Linked DNA regions of Homo sapiens: regions 1 and 2 are each linked to region 3. Evidence: promoter capture Hi-C in 16 types of primary human blood cells and fetal thymus (Javierre and others, 2016). All regions are on one chromosome and are shown on one strand. Each heading gives the region's core, a stretch centred on a gene start or on the middle of the fragment in contact. The rest is flanking DNA. Distances are from core to core; before and after follow the strand shown.

The links. The method cuts DNA at HindIII sites, captures the fragments that hold promoters and counts their contacts. A CHiCAGO score of 5 or more calls a contact.
Region 1: a fragment that was not itself captured here is called in contact with the fragment with the promoter of PRR14L in region 3 in 1 of 17 cell types (endothelial precursors); the score reaches 6.3 in endothelial precursors.
Region 2: a contact is called between a fragment that was not itself captured here and the fragment with the promoter of PRR14L in region 3, in 1 of 17 cell types (erythroblasts). The highest score is 6.2, in erythroblasts.

What each region holds. Positions count from the first base shown.
Region 1 is chr22:31,960,507-31,963,754 of GRCh38, reverse strand. No RefSeq gene overlaps it. Among named protein-coding and RNA genes, the nearest start is that of LINC02558, 8.7 kb to the left of the region's middle. The HindIII fragment of the contact is 975 bases long and covers 895-1,869 here.
Region 2 is chr22:31,891,982-31,895,445 of GRCh38, reverse strand. It overlaps DEPDC5 (DEP domain containing 5, GATOR1 subcomplex subunit), which reads right to left. Exons shown (of 43, transcript NM_001242896.3): 39 at 1,695-1,864. Among named protein-coding and RNA genes, the nearest start is that of YWHAH, 51 kb to the left of the region's middle. The HindIII fragment of the contact is 4,173 bases long and covers 1-3,420 here.
Region 3 is chr22:31,748,257-31,751,613 of GRCh38, reverse strand. PRR14L (proline rich 14 like) reads left to right here and starts at 1,482. Exons shown (of 9, transcript NM_173566.3): 1 at 1,482-1,621. RefSeq lists enhancers at 1,257-1,551, 1,041-1,600, 1,840-2,472. The HindIII fragment of the contact is 5,796 bases long and covers 1-2,522 here.

The DNA.
Region 1 (3,248 bases), core at 133-2,632, 210 kb before region 3:
CAGCCATTTCTCTTTGTTTTGTTTTGTTTTTTTCCCCGAGACAGAGTCTTGCTCTGTCGCCCAGGCTGGAGTGGCGCAATCTCGGCTCACTGCAACCTCCACCTCTCGAGTTCAAGCGATTCTCCTGCCTCAGCCTCCCGAATAGCTGGGATTACACATGTGCACCACCACACCCAGCTGATTTTTGTATTTTTAGTAGAGATGGGGTTTTACCATGTTGGCAAGGCTGGTCTTGAACTCCTGACCTTGTGATCCGCCCGCCTCAGCCTCCCAAAGTGGTGGGATTACAGGCGTGAGCCACCACGCCCAGCCTCAGTCATTTCTTTTTAAAAATTCTGACCTGTAATCAATGAGTTATTCATGAATTCATTACTGTGAGTTTGTGTGCTGGACCTGGAGAGGACCGTGAGTGACATTTTCCTAGTTACTTTATATCTTTTTAATGTATCTTCCCCACTTTTTTGTATCTCCCCACTCTAACACTGGAGTTAGCCCCCTGGTCCATGTCCATGTCTGTATAATTCACTAAGGTCTCTCCAGCCACCTGCCCAGTGTCTACCCCATAATGGCAGCTCTTCAATGTGTTTGTCAAATGAATGAAGACAGATAAATGCCATTGTGTGGTACAGACCCACAGTACTGGATCCCAAAGAAGGGATCGCAGTAGCTGACAGGGAGGAGGTAAGATTTCATAGATAGAATTCGAATAGGGCAAGAGAAGAAAGCCAGACAGGAGAGTAACGGCTTGAGCAAAAGTAAGAGCAGGCTGAACAAACTGGGTGCAGCTGGAGAGATTCCAGTTGGTGCTTTGATCCACCTCTTGAGTTATACTGTAACGGCAGTGCCTACTGTAACTGTAGTACCTCACTTTTTGAAGTGAAGGAGCTCCAAGCTTTAGGAGTAAGAAGCACATTAAGGTCCAGATTGCCTGGAGATGTGGGTGGGGCAGTAAAAAAGACCAATCTGGCTTAAAAGGCGAATGTAAAGAAGGTGATTGAGCAAAGGCTACCTGGCAAGGAAGAAAGAGGTCTTATCAAGGAAGACCTGGAGTGGCAGGCTTTCAGCCCCTGTCTTGAAGACAACATCGCATCATGAAAAGGATCTTGAAGCCCTGCACAAAGACATGCTCTGCCACTCCTCAGCTATGTGACCATAGAAAGTCACTTTTCCTCTCTGAGCTGCTAAATTGGAGCTATGACCTAATTCACAAGATTATTAGCTTGAACTTTAAAATGTAGGCTGGGCGTTGGCCGGGTGCAGTGGCTTACGCCTGTAATTCCAGTACTTTGGGAGGCCGAGGTGGGCGGATCACCTGAGGTCAGGAGTTCGAGACCAGCCTGACCAACATGGAGAAACCTGTCTCTACTAAAAATACAAAATTAGCTGGGCGTGGTGGCGCATGCCTGTAATCCCAGCTACTTGGGAGGCTGAGGCAGGAGAGTCGCTCGAACCCAGGAGGCAGAGTTTGCACTGAGCCAAGATTGTGCCACTGCCCTCCAGCCTGGGCAACAGAGAGAGACTCCGTCTCAAAAAAAAAAAAAAAATGTAGGCTGGGCGCAATGGCTTATGCCTGTAATCCCAGCACTTTGGGAGGCTGAGGCAGGAGGATCACTTGAGGTGAGGAGTTGGAGAGCAGCCTGGCCAACATGGTGAAACCCTGTCTCTACTAAAAATACAAAAATTAGCCAGGTGTGGTGCCATGCACCTGTAGTCTCAGCTACTCAGGAGGCTGAGGCAGGAGAATCGCTTGAACCTGGGAGGTGGACATTGCAGTGAGCTGAGAGTGTGCCACTGCACTCTAGCCTGGGCAACAGAGTGAAACTCTTGTCTCAAAAATAATAATAAAAAAATAAAAATGTACATAAAGCTTCACTTAGCAGGGTGACTGACTAGCTCACAAAAGACAGCAAATGTTATTTCCCCTCCCCTTCCTAGTACAGAATGGCATGGGAGTAGAACTTTGGGAAATGAATTTGACAATAGATTCCTTCAGGTTTGTTTGTTTGCTTGAGACAGGCTGTCACCCAGGCTGGAGTGCAGTGGTGTAATCAGGGCTCACTGCAGCCTCAACCTCCCAGGACCAAGCAATCCTCCCACCTCAGCCTCTCAAATAGGTGGGACTACAGGCATGCAACAACACAGCTGGCTAAATTTTTGTACTTTTAGTACAGATGGGGTTTTACTGTGTTGCTCGGGCTGGTCTCAAACTCCCGGACTCAAGCAATCCTCCTCCCACCTCGGCCTCCTAAAGTACTGGGATTACAGGTGTAAACCACCTTGCCAGGCTTGTTATAACATTTCTAGGACTCCTTTTCTCTAGTTGGGGATCAAAATATCCATGGCGTAGTGGAAAGAACCTTAAAGTAAGACAGCCCATTTCAATCTCAACCTTGCCTCTTACTAGCTATGCACGTTACATCACCGAATACCTGGTTTCCTCATGTGTTAAAAATATTAACATTCCTCACTGCTAAGGCTGCTGTAAAGATTCAGAGACCATGCATTCAAAGTACCCAAGACACAGTAAGTATTTGAGATGGTAATTTTTATTAGCCAGTCTAATGATTGGGTTTTATAATGAAAGAAGACCTGTTAAGTCACACCCAGCTCTGAATCATAGTGTTTGTGCTTGCCTGATAGTCACATCTGCTAAGATGAGGACCCTCTCAGTCTCTGGATGGCAGATTCTAAGGGTGTATGGGAGGAAGGTATGGAGGGCCTGATGGCCCACGCACAGCCTATTTAATCTTACAGAGCCAAGAGGAATCCTAGCTCCCTGATCCCGAAGGATTTAAGGACGGCCAAGAATTTACCCAACAATAGCTTCATTATCAAGAATCCTACCCCTTCCCCCAACTCAAAGAAATGGACTTTTGAGCAGGGTTTGAGGAGCTACTGGAAATCTGAAGCAATAGCAACAATAATTTTTTCTGGGGGGGGGGGGGGGGCGGGGACGGAGTTTTTGCTCTTGTTGCCCAGGTTGGAGTGCAATAGCGCGATCTCGGCTCACCGCAACCTCTGCCTCGCAGGTTCAAGCGATTCTCCTGCCTCAGCCTGCTGAGTAGCTGGAATTACAGGCATGCGCCTCCATGCCCGGCTAATTTTGCATTTTTACTAGAGATGGGGTTTCTCCATGTTGGTCAGGCTGGTCTCGAACTCCTGACCTCAGGTGATCCGCCCACCTCGGCCTCCCAAACTGCTAGGATTACAGGCGTGAGCCACCGCGCCCAGCCAACATCAATAAATTT
Region 2 (3,464 bases), core at 85-2,584, 140 kb before region 3:
GTGAGCACTGCGATGGGGGATGGTCAGGTATGGCTTCTTAGTGTAGGAGCAGTGAATGGCCTGATTACAGATGCAGGCCAGGATGAACTAGAAGGAGAAAGGACAGGCAGGAAGACCAGTTAAAACAGGGCTTCTCAACCTTGGCACTTGTGACATCTTGGGCTGGTTATTCTTTGTTGTGGGGGCTGCCCTGTGCATTATAGGATGATGAGCAGCTTTGCTGGTCTCTACCCACTAGACACCAGTAGCACCCACCCTGCCCTCACCCCTTTCTTTCTTTCCTTTTTTTTTTTTTTTTTTTTGAGACGGATTCTCGCTCTGTTGCCCAGGCTGGAGTGCAATGGCGCGATCTCAGCTCACTGCAACCTCCACCTCCCAGGTTCAAGCGATTCTCCTGCCTCAGCCTCCCGAGTAGCTGGGATTATAGGCAGTGCGCCACCACGCCTGGCTAATTTTTTGTATTTTTAGTAGAGACGGGGTTTCTCCATGTTGGTCAGGCTGGTCTCGAACCCCCAACCTTAGGTGATCCTCCTGCCTCGGCCCGGGATTACAGGCGTGAGCCACTGCTCCCGGCCTTCTTTTTTTTTTTCCTTTTTTTTTTAAGATGAAGTCTCACTCTGTCACTCAGGCTGGAGTGCAGTAGCATGATCTTGGCTCACTACAACCTCCATCTCCCAGGTTCAAGTGATTCCCCTGCCTCAGCTTCCCGAGTAGCTGGGACTACAGGCGTGCACCACCATGCCTGGGTAATTTTTGTATTTTCAGTAGAGACAGGGTTTCACCATGTTGGCCAGGCTGGTTTTGAACTCCTGACCTTGAGTGATCTGCCTGCCTCGGCCTCCCAAGGCGTGAACCTCCGTGCCCAGCCACCCTTTTCTGTCTTCAGATATTGCCAAATGATCCCGGGTGGCAAAATCCGCCCAGGTAAAGAACCACTGAGTTCAAAGCAGTGATGTTTATTAACAGGGGACTGGTTAACTATGGTTAAACAAATAATAGAAAACTCTCCAGCCCTTAAAAACAACGAGGCAAAACAAAAACAAACAAAAATCCCAATAACAATAATAATAAAAAAAATCCCAAGGCAGATTTATTTGTACTGACATGGAACACATAGGTGATAGAAAAAATGCAATGTAAGTAGTATGTATCCAATGCTACCATCTCTGCTGAAAAAAAAAAAAAGTAACGTGATTTTGTCCATGCTTAGAATCTCTCTGGAAGTTTACTCAACAAAGCAGAAGTAGATCCCAGGGAATGAGAGTGGGAAACAGACTTACTTTTCACTCTAAACCAGTGATTCTCAAGAGGGAGCAATACTCCCCCTTCCTGGGGACATGTGACAATATCTGGGGACATTTTGCTTACCACACCTGGGGCTGTGCTACTAGCATTTAGTGGGTAGAGGCTAGGGTTGTTGCTCAATTTCCCATAAGGTGCAGGACTCCCCCACAGAGAATTATCTGGCCTCAGATGTCAATACTGCTAAGGCTAAGAAACCCTGATTCTACCTTTTTTGATTGCTTAAAATTTTTACTATGTTTAAATTTTTTAAAAAGGTTACTCCAATAGTCCCGATGAATGGTAATAAGAGCCTGAACTAAAAAATTAAAGTGACATGAATCTCTATCAAGCATCTCCATGCCCACTGTGAGGTGAGCCAAAGGCCTGACAACATGCATGAAGGTTCTCACCATCTCGAAGAGTACTGCTGCGGTCACCGCCATCCAGTGCAGCTTGATCTCAAAGGCTGCATTCAGAGAAAAGTTGCCATGGTAATAACAGCTGCACCACTCCAGCCGGTCTGTGCGGTTGTTCACGTCAACATCCAGGGTCACAGTCCTCTGCTCTGGGACAGTGGCAGCTATGTCAGCACACAGGAGGGGCCCCAAGAGAGTGAGAAAAGGAGTGGGATGAAGAAGAACAAATAACTAAGTATCCAGATATGAAACTATATACAAGTGCCTAAAAGAAAACTGCAGATTCCAGAAGTTTCCTGGAAATCATCTAGATATTGGAAACCTTTCTGTAAAAGGCCCCATTATAAATATTTTACATTTTGTGAGACATATGGTTTCTGTTGCAACTACTCAACTCTGCTATTGTAGTGCAAAAGCAGCCACAAACGTTACATAATGAAGGTGCCTGGCTGTATTCCAATAAAACTTTATAAAAGCAGACTGAGTTTTAGGGCGGTTAAACTATTCTGTAGGATATCATGTTAGATACGTGTCACTATACATTTGTCCAAACCTACAGAATATACAACACCAGCCGGGCACAGTGGCTCACGTGTGTAATCCCAGCACTTTGGGAGGCCGACGCAAGCAGATCACGAGGTCAAGAGATCGAGACCATCCTGGCCAACATGGTGAAACCCCATCTCTACTAAAAATACAAAAATTAGCTGGGTGTGGTGGTGCACACCTGTAGTCTCAACTACTCAGGAGGCTGAGGCAGGAGAATCGCTCGAACCTGGGAGGCAGAGGTTGCAGTGAGCCGAGATCGCGCCATTGCACTCCAGTCTGGCAATACAGCGAGACTCCGTCTCAAAAAAAAAAAAAAAAAAAAATACACCACCAAAGAGTGAACCCTAAAATGTAAACCATGGATATTCTGGGTGACAATGATGTCAATGTAGGTTTATGGATTGTACCTTGTAAAAAATGGACTACTCCGTCTGGGGATGTTGATAGTGGGGGCAGCAGGTTGTGGGGGTGGAGGTCAAAGGATGCATAGTAATTTTCTTTCTTTCTTTTTCAGAGATGGAGTCTCACTATGTCACCCGGGCTGGAGTGCAGTAGCGTGATCTTGGCTCACTGCAACCTCTGCCTCCCAGGCTCAAGTGATTCTCTTGCCTCATTCTCCCAAGTAGCTGGGATTACAGGCATGCGCCACCACACCCGGCTAATTTTTGTATTTTTAGTAGAGACGGGGTTTTGCCATGTTGGCCAGGCTGGTCTCAAACTCCTGACCGCCGGTGCTCCACCCGCCTCGGCCTCTCAAAGTGCTGGGATTACAGGCTTGAGCCACCATGCCCGGCCAGATGTACAGGAACTTTCTATTAGATTCTGCTATGAACCGAAAACTGCTCTAAAAGAAATAGTCAATTATAAATGAACAAATGGTGAGCCAGATTTGGCTGCTTAAGCCATAGTTTACTTCTCCCTAAGTAATCCAACCCCTTCATTTACAGATGAGGAAATGGCAGCCAGGGAGGGAAGATGCCTTGGCCAAGATGATGGAATCAGAACCTCAGCCAGGCTAAACCCCAGATCTTTTTATTTCAGTGACCTATGAAGAAACACAATGGGCAAACAGCACAGACCACCAGTGACAAGTCTTGCTTTTCAGGTTTCAACCCAGGAAGACAGTAGTTCTACAATCTTTTCTCAAGAAATGAAACCTTATAATGAAGCTTAACACCCTGTCCTATCATTGACATGTTGCTCAAGGATGCTGGG
Region 3 (3,357 bases), core at 233-2,732:
GTGGCTCACGCCTGTAATCCCAGCACTTTGGGAGGCCGAGGCAGGCGGATCACTCGAGGTCAGGAGTTCAAGACCAGCCTGGCCAACATGGTGAAACCCTGTCTCTACTAAAAATACAAAAATTAGCTGGGCATGGTAGCATGCGCCTGTAATCCCAGCTACTCAGGAGGCTGAGGCTGGAGAATCTCTTGAACCTGGGAGGCAGAGGTTGCAGTGAGCCGAGATCCTACCACTGCACTCCAGCCTGGTGTCAGAACGTGGCCCCGTCTCAAAAAAAAAAAAAAGAAAGAAAGAAACGAAACTTTGAAGCATTCAATTTTTTTTTTTTTTTTTTTTTTTGAGACAGTGTCTTGTTTTGTTGCCCAGGCTGGAGTGCAGTGGGGGCACCATCATAGCTCAATGCAGCTTCAAACTCCTGGGCTCAAACGATCCTCCTGCTTCAGGCTCCCCAGTAGCTAGGAGCACAGGTGCATCAACACCTGAGCAATTTTTGTTTTGTTTTGAGAAAGAGTCTTGCTGTGTCATCCAGGCTGGAGTGCAGTGGCACTATCACTGCTCACTGCAGCCTCAACCTTCCAGCCTCAAGTGATCTTCCTGCCTCAGCCTCCAGAGTAGCTGGGATTACAGGCACACATCACCAGACCCAGCTGTTTGTTTTTTGGCAGAAACGATGTCTCACTATGTTGCCCAGGCTGGTCTCAAACTTCTGGGCTGAAGTGCTTCTCCCGCTTTCGCCTCCCAAAGTGCTGGATTACAGGCGTGAGACACCGCGCCTGGTCGATTTCTATTTTTTAACACAAAGCCGTATTATTTGGGGCAAGTCGATTTCATTATCTGGACCTCAATTCTTCCACTGGATAAACATTTCTTCCTTCCTTCAAATGTCCATTGAGCGTCTAGTTTTGTGCCGGACACTGCTCTTGGTGCTGAGCATTAAGTGATGAACAAAACAGACAAGGTGGAGGAAGATAAATGATAAACAAGTCAATAAAGAGATGAGACATAGAAATTTCAGCTAGTGTTAAAGCTATGAAGAAAATAAAACAAGGTTCTGTAACCAACTGGAGGCAGAGGTGCCATTTATTTAGTGGTCAGTGTGATTAGAAGAAGCAGAGGAGTGTCATGACCCAAAACACTCTTTCCAGTAGAATAAGATCTCTCGGGCTGCCAGAGTGGAAGCAGGCAGGCCCTTAGAATTGTAGCCGTCCAGACTAGAAAAACGGTGGACTGGAACAGGGTGACAGCAGCGAAGGCCGGCACTGGGTCCTGTGGCTCAGCAGGAGCAGAACCAAAAGTTGTGTTTCCCTTTAAGAGTTTGAGCCGCAGGGGCGGGGTTGAGGGAGGCTGGGGCTAGCAGAGGGCGGGAGGTCAGAATCAGGAAGAGCCTTCCCTTGGAGTGCGCGCGCGCGGTGCGGGGGCGGGATTTGGGCGAGTCCGCATGGCTGGCTCGGGCCCCGGATGAGGAAGTGCAGGGGGACCATAGAGACGAAGAGGTGGCGGCGGCCGGAGCGCCCCCGGCCTCTGTCGGCTCCGTAGGCTCAGGTAGACCTGGCGACGACGGGGCTGCAGCTGCAGGGGCTGAGCTGGCTGGGCAAGCGCGGGCCGCGGAGGAGGTCTCAGGGTAAGAGGCCGGGACTGGAAGGCTTCGGGCGTAGCCGCCCCGCCCCACTCCGCCCTAAAGGGACCCTCCGCCGGGTGGTGCTGCTAAAGGGGAGTCCAGGCCCCCCGCCCTCTCGGGGCGCGGAAAGGAACCAAGGCTGCCCTGTGGGCGGCGGAACGACCCAGGGAGAGGGAGGAGACCAGGCCCCGCGTCGCTAGAGAAAAGCGGCTTCTCCGAGTCATGGCTCCGACGCGGGAGAGAGACTCCTCTTCAACCTCGATACAACAGGGATCCCCCAACTTATCTCCTCGGAGAGGACGACGCCCCTTATCGGAGGCGTACGCTCTTTCTTAGCGCTCATCCGTTGGTCAGCAGAGGGAGACCCACTCCCAGGGTTCGAGGGGGATTCTGAACTTATCCTGAGGAGGAGTAAAAGATAACCCCTAAATGAGACCTTTCCCCCAACTTTGGTCAGCGTCACCCAGGTGAAGAGTGAGACCCAACTTGCCTGAAAGTGACAGAGGGGATCTTTCTTCCCAGTAAGAAAGAGACTTACCTTCCTCCTTTATTTTTCGCCTGTACCCCAAGATACGGAGAGGAAGACCTTGAAATTTTACTTTATGGTATCAGAAATCAACCTTTCTCCCTCTCCCCTCGTGATGTCCACAGAGAGACCCTCGCTTCTCTTCTTCCCTTTAAGCCTCTTGGTGTGCAGTGAGCTCCTTTCCCTTGCATTATTAAGAGCATGGCTTTTGGAGTGTAATCGTTGCAAACCTGGGTCTCTCACTTAACGTCTTTGTGACCTTGACTATTTGTTTAACTTGTCTGAATCTCAGTCCATCTCCAATTTGGGTTCTGTTTTCTTAGAATTGTCATGCGGGCTAAGGGAGCATTTGTGTAAATACTAGTTATATAGTAAGCTTTTGGTAAGCTGTTGCTATTACTATTACTTAATCTGTTAAAAAAGAAAACTAATATCTTGCACAGAGAAGCATATTTTTCCATGCATGCCCCTCGCAGCCTCCATCACAAGTGTTCAACCATCCTTTCTCACTGGAGTGGAAGACTCCCTCCCACTTAGGGGTTAGAGAAAGAGACACTTCCAGTCCCCTTAGATCCTGCTGTTCAATACTTTCCCAAATTAACAAAGAGGGCCTCACTGAAAATAATCAGTAAAAAAAAGACTTAGCTTTTGGAAACAGGTCTGTGCTCTTAAGAGAAAGTGAGACCTGATGCCAGACGCCAGCACTTCCTTTGTCCACAGAAGGTATCACTTCTTCCTGACTGGTTAGAGATGCCCTCTCCCACTTCCCTGACTTACTGTAGTGACAAAAAATCTTCCATCTGCACATCCTTCCCACCCCCCCAAGTGGGCGATTCCATATTCTTCCTGTCTTTTGCTCTCCCAAGAAAATGAAGACTCTATACCTTTGAGGAGAGATCTCTTCCCTCTTGTATATGGAAAATGACACAGATTGTTTCTTTTCTCCTTTTCCTTTATAAAACAGAGGAAAATCTTTTATACAGGAAGCCTCTGTCAGTAGAAATCAGGAGCATTTTCCAGTTTCACTCCTTACGTGGAGACAGGGATCCTTTTTCTGGATGTTATTAAAGGGAGGAAATGGGAAATAGTCCTTGATGCTTTAGAGATTTTCTGCACGCTCCATGTTGAAGCGCTTGCCCTGTTTAGTGTATGAACTTCCCTGCCTCACTTTTGGTTTGTCTTGGGATTTTATTAAAAAACTCTTCTTTCTTTG